Regions from separate parts of the Homo sapiens genome. Here regions 1 and 2 are each linked to region 3. The links are contacts of gene promoters, found by promoter capture Hi-C in blood cells and fetal thymus (Javierre and others, 2016). All regions are on one chromosome and are shown on one strand. The core of a region is centred on a gene start or on the middle of the fragment in contact, and the rest is flanking DNA. Distances in the headings are between cores, read along the strand shown.

What was found. The method cuts DNA at HindIII sites, captures the fragments that hold promoters and counts their contacts. A CHiCAGO score of 5 or more calls a contact.
Region 1: a contact is called between a fragment that was not itself captured here and the fragment with the promoter of ACBD5 in region 3, in 1 of 17 cell types (total B cells). The highest score is 5.2, in total B cells.
Region 2: a contact is called between a fragment that was not itself captured here and the fragment with the promoter of ACBD5 in region 3, in 1 of 17 cell types (total B cells). The highest score is 6.5, in total B cells.

What each region holds. Positions count from the first base shown.
Region 1 is chr10:28,367,660-28,371,433 of GRCh38, forward strand. No RefSeq gene overlaps it. Among named protein-coding and RNA genes, the nearest start is that of MPP7-DT, 66 kb to the left of the region's middle. The HindIII fragment of the contact is 5,601 bases long and covers 1-3,774 here.
Region 2 is chr10:28,556,649-28,560,009 of GRCh38, forward strand. All of the region lies in intron 3 of WAC (WW domain containing adaptor with coiled-coil), which reads left to right. Among named protein-coding and RNA genes, the nearest start is that of WAC, 25 kb to the left of the region's middle. The HindIII fragment of the contact is 2,148 bases long and covers 205-2,352 here.
Region 3 is chr10:27,238,393-27,242,054 of GRCh38, forward strand. It overlaps ACBD5 (acyl-CoA binding domain containing 5), which reads right to left and starts at 2,405. Exons shown (of 13, transcript NM_145698.5): 1 at 2,282-2,405; 2 at 1,927-2,092. The coding sequence starts at 2,296. RefSeq lists enhancers at 1,457-1,959, 1,917-2,176, 3,627-3,662 and a silencer at 2,297-2,406. The HindIII fragment of the contact is 10,066 bases long and covers 1-3,662 here.

The sequences.
Region 1 (3,774 bases), core at 1,110-3,609, 1.1 Mb after region 3:
CAAGTCATCTTCTCAGGTTCCCGAATAGCTGGGACTACAGGTGCAGCACCATGCCCGGCTAATTTTTTTACTTTTGTAGAGACAGGGTCTCACTATGTTGCCGAGACTGGTCTCAAACTCGTGGCCTCAACTGATCCTCCCGCCTCAGCCTCCCAAAGTACTGGCATGAGCCACTTTGCTTGGCACAGAAATACTTTAAATATTTACCCAGGATATTTCAAATATGAATCTGTACTTGACGTGTCTACAAGTGGCTGGCTAGTGTTTCCAAAGACGCACTGAAAACGTTGAAAAAATAAAATGGCGACTCCGGATAAGGTATCTGTCACCATGCTATGTTGCACAGAATGCTCACAGGAAAAGCCACACTGCTCTGTGACATTATGATCAAGGAACACGTGCTGAGTGGAGGCTCAGACCATATGGGCCTGTGCATATGGTAATCATTAAAGACTCACAGCTTACAAGAGTAACTGACAGAAAAAATATATATAGTGAGAGTCTCAGTGGTATAAATTCCTCTCTAGACCTCCCACCATATGGGGATATTTAAGTCAAAAGAATTAAGCATCAGAGCTAGAAGCTATTCCTGCACACAAGTAGAAACTACTTTCAGTGAGCAGAATCAGGAAATACGATGACTTGTCTACTCAGGCACATACTTAAAGAAAGTACCCAAACCGAAGGAACTAGAAAGACTTTCGCTTCTTTTGAAAAGAAGGGAAGTGGTGAGTGAGCTTCGGCATTCAGCCCCACCCAAAGAGCTCCCCAGACCTGGGCCACAGTGTCAGGAAATTGCAGCAGAGAGTTCAGAGAGACAGGACTAGGTCCAGCAAAGGAAAAATGATTAAGGGGTCAAAGACAGGGATAAAAGTGGCTTTTTTTCCCCAAATATTGAGTTGGAGTCTTTATTTTTATTTTGTATTTTTATTTATTTTTATTTTTTGAGACGGAGTCTCGCTCGTTAGCCCAGGCTGGAGTGCAGTGGCACAATCTCAGCTCACTGCAACCTCTGCCTCCTGGATTCAAGCAATTCTCCTGCCTCAGCCTCCTGAGTAGCTGGGATTACAGGTACGCACCACCACACCCAGCTAATTTTTGTATTTTTGGTAGAGACGAGGTTTCACCATGTTAGCCAGACTGGTCTTGAACTCCTGACCTCATGTGATCCACCTGCCTTGGCCTCCCAAAGTGCTGGGATTACAGGCATGAGTCATCCTGTCTGGCCAACTTGGAGTCTTGAATGAAAAATAAGAGATACATTTTCAAATTCATGCAAAGTGCAAGCATTTATCTTTGGTAAGCATGGGTTTGCAATCTGAAGAATCTGTAGATTTTTCAGGTGAAGATGAGCAGAGTAGGAAGCAAATATTGTACTTTGACCGATTTTTTTTTTTTTTTTTTTTTGAGACGGAGTCTCACTCTGTCACCAGGCTGGAGTGCAGTGGCACAATCTCAGCTCACTGCAACCTCCACCTCCTGGGTTCAAGCCATTCTCCTGCCTCAGCCTCCTGAGTAACTGGGACTACAGGTGTGCACCACCGCACCCAGCTGATTTTTTTGTATTTTTAGTAGAGACGGTTTCACCATGTTGGCCAGGATGGTCTCGATCTCCTGACCTTGTGATCCACCTGCCTTGGCCTCCCAAAGTGCTGGGATTACAGGCGTGAGCCACCGCGCCCTGCTGGCCAATTTGATTTTAAGCAAAAGGTTTCATTTTGTTACATACCTCACCGTGCTCTGGCCACATCCTAGAAGATGGTGACACCATAAGAAGGGGCCAGAACACATCCTGAAGCAATATACTAGTCACTGTCACCTTCACCCCCATGCCTCAGAAAGTAAATTTACACCCCACCAGGGAGCAAAATTACACTCACATACACAAAACATGAAACGCCGAAGCATCCTATTGTGGAAGTCAGTTTTAACATAAGAAGAAAAGTCTATGCCTTCAAGAAATATTTATTAGGGCTGGGCCCAGTCCCTCATGCCTGTAATCCCAACACTTTGGGAGGCCAAAGTGGGAGGATCACGTAAGGCCAGGAGTTTGAGACCAGCCTGGGCGACATAGCAAGACTCCATCTCTAAAAAAATAAAATAAAAATTAGCCAGACAGGGGCTGGGCGCGGTGGCTCACACCTGTAATCCCAGTACTTTGGGAGGCTGAGGCAGGTGGATCACGAGGTCAGTAGGTCTCTACTAAAAATACAAAATTTAGCCAGATGTGGTGGTGCGCATCTGTAGTCCCAGCTACTCGGGAGGCTGAGGCAGGAACATTACTTGTACCTGGGAGGCGGAAGTTGTAGTGAGCCGAGATTGTGCCACTGCACTCCAACCTGGGTGACAGAGTGAGACTCCATCTCAAAAAAAAAAAAAAAAAAAAAATTAGCCAGACATGGTGGTGCACACCTGTAGTCCCAGCTACTCAGGAGGCTGAGGTGGGAGGATCACTTGAGCCAAGGAGTTTGAGGCTGGAGTGAACTATGACCACAGCACTGCACTCCCTTCTGGGCAACAAACCAAGGCCCAAAGAAAGAAAGAGAAAGAGAGAGGGAGGGAGAAAGAGAGGATGGAAGGAAGGGAGAAAGAGAGAAAGAGAAAGGAAAGAGGGAAGGAGGGAAGGAAGGAAGGAATGAAGGAAGGAAGCAAGCAAGCCAGGTGGTGGGTAGTGGAAACAGTGAGTGCAAAGGCCCTGGGGTAGGAGGTATGTGCTTGAGGAACAGCAAGAAGGCATGCAGGGCTGGAGTGGAGTTAGTAACAATGAGTTCATTTCACCTGAAGTCTCCCTTTTAAGCAATGAAATTGAATGCCAAAGAAGTGAATTACCTAATTAATTGTAGCTTCTATCCAAAATGATAAGTGGTAGCAAACCTGAATTCACACCCTCAGTCCTTGGCAGAACCATGCTAAGTCTTCTGGGACTGTTGCTAGTCCATCTGGTGCCTTTGGGCAAATTAGAAAATGGTGTTCCTTCCTCCAGGCAAAGGCCGCTGCATGACCAGGTGCACTACTTGGCAGATGGTGCTTGGCCTGGACTTCACCTGTCATTTGCCCCCACAGTCAGGCACTCTCAGCTGGGCCCAAACTGCACAGCAATATGCATTGGCCAGAATCAACAGCATCTTTTCCATACTGTTATATCTCCCCTAGTATTGATCGAATCATTCCCCAAGCCAATGGTTTCAAGTTTGAACTCTTAGTTAATTCTCATCATATAGTTCATTTTGCAAGAGGTGTGCAGCACCATGCTGCTTTGAACCATTTGGTAGGTGTTGCAAATAGTTGAATGGTGGAAAAGTTGAATCTGTTTGGCCACAGATGGACTGTAAGATGTGTATTGGATTCCCTTTGCTGCTGTTAAAAATTAATGCAAACTTAGTGACTTAAAACAACACAAATTTATTATCTTATGCTTTTGGATGTCAGAACTCCCAAATTCAAGGTGTCAGGAGTTGCATTGCTTCTGGAAGCTCAGTGGGACAATTCATGTACCTGCCTTTTCTGACTTCTAGGAGCTGCCTGGATTCCTGGACTCCTTGACCCTTCCTCCAGTTTCAAAGTCAGCAATGCAGCACCGTCAAAGGGTTCTCTCTCCCTCTCTGTCACACACACACACACACACACACACACACACACACACACACACTCACCCCTGCTTTCATCATCAGGTTGCCTCCTCTGACTCAGACCCTCTGCCTCCCTCTTATAAGAACCCTTGAGATGACACCGAGTCTGCCTGAATAATCCAGGAAAATCCAGGATAAGCTCGCC
Region 2 (3,361 bases), core at 29-2,528, 1.3 Mb after region 3:
CTGTTTTGTCCCCTATGTTTTCTTGTGGGAGTTCTACAGTCTCAGACCTTATATTTTCAGTTGTTATTCATTTTGAGTTACTGATTGTATATGGTGTACAACAAGGATCCAATTTCATTCTTCTGCGTGCGGCTATCCAGTTTTCCCAGCAACATTTTTTGAAGAGGCTTTCCATTTCCGTTTCTCATTGTGTATTGTTGTCAAAGCTTATTTGACCGTGGAAGCATGGGTTTATTTTTGGGTGTTCTGTTGCATTGGTGTGTGTTTCTGTTTTTATACCAGAACCATACTTTTTTTATTATTACCATAGCTTTGTAAGATGCTTTTAAATCAAGAATTGTGATACCTCCAGCTTTGTTCTTTCTCAAAATGCTTAGCTATTTGTGGTCTTTTTATGTTCCCTACAAATTTTGGGAGTTTTTTTTTTTGTGTTGAAAATTTCATTGGAATTTTGATAGGTATAAGTCACGGTTATTTAAGTTGAACAGCCTTTTTCTAATAACAACTGGTAATATAGGTGTTTATATCCTGACTCAGGTTCCTGTGCCAGATTTTTAAAGATAAATTTGAGTGCCTTGTAATATTGACTAATAAACTGTTAGGCATAATTTAATGCATTTTCAGTGCCAATAAAAATCACCTTATTGAAGCAATGTGATAATATTATAAAACTGTCAATATTATACAGTGTCATTAGCTATATAAAGGATATGAGATTTTCTTTTGTATAAACAGTCAAAATTGGAAAATAAAGGAATAGTTGTAGGCTGGGTGTGGTGGATCACACCTATAATCCTAGCACATGGGGAGGCCAAGGTGGGAGGATCACCTGAAGTCAGGTGTTCAAGACCCACCTGAACATAGTGAGACCTTGTCTCTACAAAAATTTTTAAAAATCAGCTGGGTGTGGTGGTGTGCCCCTATGGTCTCAGCTGTTTGAGAGGCTGAGGCAGGAGGATTGCTTGAGCCTAGGAGGTTGAGGCTGCAGTGAGCCATCATTGTTCCACTGCACTCCAGCCTGGGAGACAGAATGAGACATTGTGTCTTTAAAGAGAAAAAGGAATAGCTTTATTAAAATGGTCCTGGAATGTGGAAAAAATGTCTTTGGATAGATTTTGATAGATGTTAAGAAAATACTCTTAGGGGTCAGGCTCAGTGGCTCACGCCTGTAATCCCAGCGCTTTCAGAGGCCGAGGTGGGTGGATCATGAGGTCAGGAGATTGAGACTGTCCTGGCTAACATTGTGAAACCTCGTCTCTACTAAAAATACAAAAAATTAGCCGGGTGTGGTGGCAGGCGCCTGTAGTCCCAGCTACTTGGGAGGCTGAGGCAAGAGAATTGCTTGAACCCAGGAGGCGGAAGTTGCAGTGAGCCTAGATTGTGCCATTGCATTCCAGCCTGGGCAACAGAGCGAGATTCTGTCTCGGAAAAAAAAAGAAAATACTCTTAGAGTCACTTGAAACACTTTGAGAAACTCCTTGTGGGTCATCTTTTGGCCTATCTCTTTCCTTATAAAATATCTACAAGAAAACTCAATCTTTAGAGAGAAAACTTTGTGAAATTATTTTTCTCCTTTTTTTTTCTGTTGCCACTTTGTTCTCTAGTGTTTAAAATTTAAAGATTTTATTGAGGAGAGTGATTTACAATCAGACCTTAAGCAGTTAGGGAGCTCAGCCTGCGGTGTTTGAGGGGAAAGCTAATATAGGGTAAATGCAGAAGCAGCGCAAAGAAATTATTTGATTTCTTAATGTTTGAGCAGTTGCCTTATTTGGACTAAGTGGGAAGTTCAAGACATTGTAACTAATACCTATTTGGCCACCTGTGATTGGCTGAGTGTGTTTCATTTTCATTAGGAAGCCGGGTTTGTTTAATTTTAATTCTTTTGAGTTATGTGTAGCAATCTATTTGTATAAATATAAATTGTAAAAAAAAATTATGTAAGTGAACCACCTGTGTTATGTTCCAAAATTTTCTATTTTTTATGTTGTTCCTCATTGCCTTCATTGTATCAGAGACTAAAATCATGGGTATTAATGAAAGCAAGTAAAATAATAGTGAGTTTGCTTTACAGTGAATCAATAAAGTCTGGTGCACTCAAGAAATTCAAGGAATCCAAAGGTGGTGCTGTCCTGTGGTAAAGATAAGTTGCAAAGAGTAGAATATAATTTTTGTGCACTGTGGGCTTTTTACTTGATACAGTTGGCTGGCCCTTAGAGGTCAAGTATTGCTTTTGATGTTATTGGAATGTTGGAAAATATCAGAAAATCCTAGAATGACGAATACGGGTAGTTCATTTGGTGCAAATCAACCCAGCTCAATTTGTTAATATAACAAATAGAATGTGTAAAATAAAGCTTTGGAGGTGGGTGTAATATTTTCCATGAGACACTTAACGTAGTACGTAAATATATCAGGCAGCCTAGTGTGTCAAGTACTGTGGGTATGGTAGACAACAGATTAGTTAAATCTCTGCTCTCGAGAAACCTGATGTGTGTGTGTGTGTGTGTGTGTGTGTGTAAGTCTGATGTTCTCTTGGGTGCGATAGTATATGAGTTGGTGATAGTGCTGTCTTGTAGAAAAATAAAGCTAGGTAAAGGAGGAAGTAGTAAGATATGCTTGGGAAGTAGGAGTTGCTTTTTTATGTAACAATGAGGAAGCTAAGCCTGTGGCTTTGGGAGTGAGGGAAGTGTGTTCTAGGCAGAGAACAGTAAATGTCCAGGCCTTATGGTGAGAGTGTTTGTTTAAACAAGTTAGCTACCAGTGTGTTTCTGGTGGGAAAGTAATGCAAGATGAGTTCAGGGAAGGAGTAACGAGTTGACCTAAGAAGGAAACGGAGGCAAAATTAATATAGAGATTTCCTTTGGACCAAGGTTGAGCACTGCAGCCCCAAAAACACTGGGAGGTGTTCTGTTTAGCATTTGTGACAAGCAAGTTTGTAAAGACAAGGAAACAAGGAGTGGGCTGATACAAGGATGTTTGATGGCAGTTCCCACTGGTTTACAGAAATAACACTGATTATTGTTATCGTTAATGATAAGGGATAAGTTAAGGTGTCCAGCATATCATTGTTAGGTTAATTTACGGCTACTTGGTGTCAGTCTAGAACCCACATAGCAAGAAACTTCAAGAGGTGATTAGTTAGCTTGAGCGGGGAGTGAGACATGACTTCGTGTCACATTTCATTGCCTCTCTGGGCCTGATGAAAGGGTTCACATTCCTCAGATAGATGTTTCTTTTCTTTCTCACAAGGGCTAGATCATGTAAGGTCTTGCAGGCTTTTGGAAAGGATTTTGGTTTTTCCTCTGAATAGAATGACTTGGATTAGGGTAATGACAATAGATGTAATGTGATTCTGGATAAT
Region 3 (3,662 bases), core at 1,155-3,654:
CATCAGTCTAGCTTTACCAATTTTCAAAAAACTATAAAAACGTGTGCTTTAGAAGAAAGTATAAACATACTACTTACATAAAACTCTTAGAATCATACCTTTCTATAAACACTAATAATTAGGGACTTAAAAAATCAATACCTAAATAAGTTCATGCTTTTTTTTATATTTTATTTGTTCTTTCTTATCTTTCAGTCCCCCATATGCCCTCCTCCAATAGAATGTTTGAAATTACAAAAGGTTCAGACAACACCATAGAAGGAAAGAAATTACAAATGGAACACTATTTTGTGTATATTTGTTTTTAAAAATTTCTGAATCTGCATTTAATGAATTTTTATTGAATGATGTGTTGAATATTTGTTACCTATAATTATTGAAATTATTGATAATTAATGATAATTAATGAAAACAGAAATCATGATATTAAATACTATAGTAACATATTATTGTTGTATTCAGTTAGTTTTACAACTGTGGCACAGTAGTAGCACCTATAATTACTTTCTAAATATGTTTATTGGGCCGGGCGCGGTGGCTCATGCCTGTAATCCCAGCACTTTGGGTGGCCCAGGAGGGCAGATCACCTGAGGTCGGGAGTTCAATACCAGCCTGACCAACATGGAGAAACCCCGTCTCTACTAAAAATACAAAATTAGCCGGGCATGGTGACGCACGGGTGTAATCCCAGCTGCTGGGTAAGCTGAGGCAGAAGAATCGCTTGAACCTGGGAGGTGGGGGTTGAGGTGAGCTGAGATTGTACCATTGCACTTCAGCCTGGGCAACAAGAGCGGAACTCCATCTCTAAAGAAATAAATATGTTTATTGTGAAATATAATTCATATAATGTAGAAAGATATGAATTGAAAAGTACGTCTTGCTTCTAAGACTCTGCATTTAGAACAGAGAAAAATATTTAATGGCCAAAAACTTCACATTGGTCTATGACATAAAATTACAAATTCAAAAAGCTCTGCAAATCGTGAACAGGGTTAATATGAAGAAAAACCACATCTACTAGTCAAATTGCTGAAAACCGAAGATAGAAAAGAAATCTAAAAAGCAGCCAGAGAAATAGCACATTAAATACAAGAAGGAGATCAGCCACTGGAATGACTTTTTTCTCACCAGCTGCAAAGAAGGTCCAATATGAGTATAAAAAAGAACATTATACAATGGAATAGCAAATAAAAAGGTAGAAAATATATATTTATTAAAATAGAAATTACTTCACAATTGACTATAGTTATTCTTTCTTTTCTGTCCCTTCATATCAAAAGTTTTCAAAACGCTTAAGCTGGTAGACCCTATGAGTGTGTGGCATTAGGCATCCCCAGCCTAGATTTTTGTTTGTTTGTTTGTTTGTTTGTTTGAGATGGAGTCTGGCTCTGTCGCCCAGGCTGGAGTGCAGTGGCACGATATCGGGTCACTGCAACCTCTGCCTCCCGGGTTCAAGCAATTTCCCTGTCTCAGCCTCCCGAGTAGCTGGGACTACAGGCGCACGCCACGAAGCCTGGCTAATTTTCGTATTTTTTAGTAGAGACGGGGTTTCACCATATTGGTCAGGCTGGTCTTGAACTCCTGACCTCAGGTGATCCATCCACCTCGGCCTCCCAAAGTGTTGGGATTACAGGCTTGAGCCACCGCGCCCGGCCCGGATTTATTTTTTAACACACCCAAATCCGCAGTCATTAAGTGACAAGACTTTTGTTTTCAACAATATGAAGTACTTAAAATCTGGATATTAGATTTTTCTCCGGTTTGGAAGATCAAAAGGTAATTAATTCATATTCAATAGCTCCCCTTCCACTACATGGCTCCTACACAGAAAAAAAGGCTAAATAAACAACACTAGAACCAGAAAGTGAAAGGGGGCTTTGGGGCTCTCTGCAGGAGGCGTCTACAGCCGGGGCCCAGCGCACGTACCATTCTTCGGCAAACTCTGGATCACCTTCACGGCCGCCTCAAACCTAGTCTCGTGCACGGATCTCGTGTCCGCCATCTCCAGCTGCCAGTGTTGGCCCCGGTCCCAAGGTCTGTCGGCGGGAATCAGGCAGCAGCAGCACCAGCTTTCCCAAGAGCCTGCATGAAACTGGAACATGGAGCGCAGCCGCGGATCAACATGCCCCAAAAGGAGGAGGCCCGGGAGCGAAGCGGGTCAGTTCCCCTTTGCCCTGCCCTATCCAGGCCACACAGATCGAAGCGGCCCGGCTCCTTCCTCCTCCCCCGGGGCGTGACTAAGGCCACGAATCCGGCCCGCGACGACAGCAAAACAACTCACCGAGAGGAAGAGCATGTCTAGCAGAAGACAGAGGGGGTCCGGGCATCGGTGGCCGCGGAGCCGCTCTCCCACCCTGGGGACCCTGGCGGAGCAGCCACACCCCCCATTCCGCCGGAGTCCGTCTGTCAGTCCGTGCCCTCCCCACAGCCCCGCCCCAGAGTCACCGGAGGACCCACTGGCGCCGCCGCCGCCGCAGCAGCAGTGCAGCAAACCCCACCCACCCGACCCGCCGCCGCGGCAAGGACGCGCGCGGTCCGTCTGTCCCCAGAGGAGGGTCCGGGAAGCGGGGAAAGGGGGCCACAGTCCCGGCTTGGTGCGGGGAGCACACTGTGCGCGCTTTTGTTCAGAAGGGGGAAACCGAGGCCGGACCGATGTGTCCGCTCTGGCAGCCGGGTGGACGAAGTGCGCGCTGGGGATGCGCGGTTGGGTTCTGCACCTGGGCCCAAAGCTGCACGCGACGGCACCGCTGGGCAACAAAAATGACTCTGCGGTCCCCAGCGCCTGCACTCTCCTAAGTTAAGGTTTGAGGAAGTTAAATGGGGCCTAAGCAAAGGGCTTTAAGTCGGGACAGGTTCTGTGAGAAACTCCAGTTCTGCCATTTAAATTATGTGACCTAGGGCAAGTCACTTAGCCTTTCCAGTGGCAATCGTGACACCCACTCTAAAGGGTAGATGGAGAAAAGCATTGGGGACCTTGGATGGAGGTGCTCAGCAGTCCCTGGCCCGCAGGTCTTCGACAGTTTTCGCTGCCCTGAGCCAAGAACGTCCGAGGAGCAGCCGAAGGAGAGAGGAGGTCGCCGGCTCCTAAACTGGGCTGGGACGGAGGGCAACTTCCCCTACACTACCCTTTCCACCCAGCCCCAGGGAGCCAGGCACCTCCAGCGGGATTTAATAGGAGACTGGGCATGGGGACGGCCGGGCACAGTGGCTCACGCCTGTAATCTCGATACTTTGAGAGGTCGAGTGGGGAGGATTGCTTGAGGCCAGGAGTTCAAGACGAGCCTGGCAACATGGCGATACCCTGGCTCTATTTAAGAAACCAATAATTAAAAAAAAAAATAAAAATAGGATACTGGGCGTAGAGGGCGGGGCCAATGAGGAGTCTTTACGGGTCGTCAACCCTAGAAAGGGGGTGCCCTGGGCCTTCAACTTACTAGCGCAACCCCCTGCGTCCTTAGGCATTTGGGAAGTGCCCCAGGCCGAACGTTGGTGGTGGGACTGACTAGGTTGTGGGGGGTGGAGTCCTGTAGCCCGGAAATCCCAAAGTCTCCCGGATGGAAGAGTCGTTTTTGTCAGTTAGGGGGATGGGTTAGGAGGGTTACTAGGAAAAATCTAGGCGCAGATCGTAAGTTACTCTTCCCTCTGAGCCGCGGCGCCGGCAT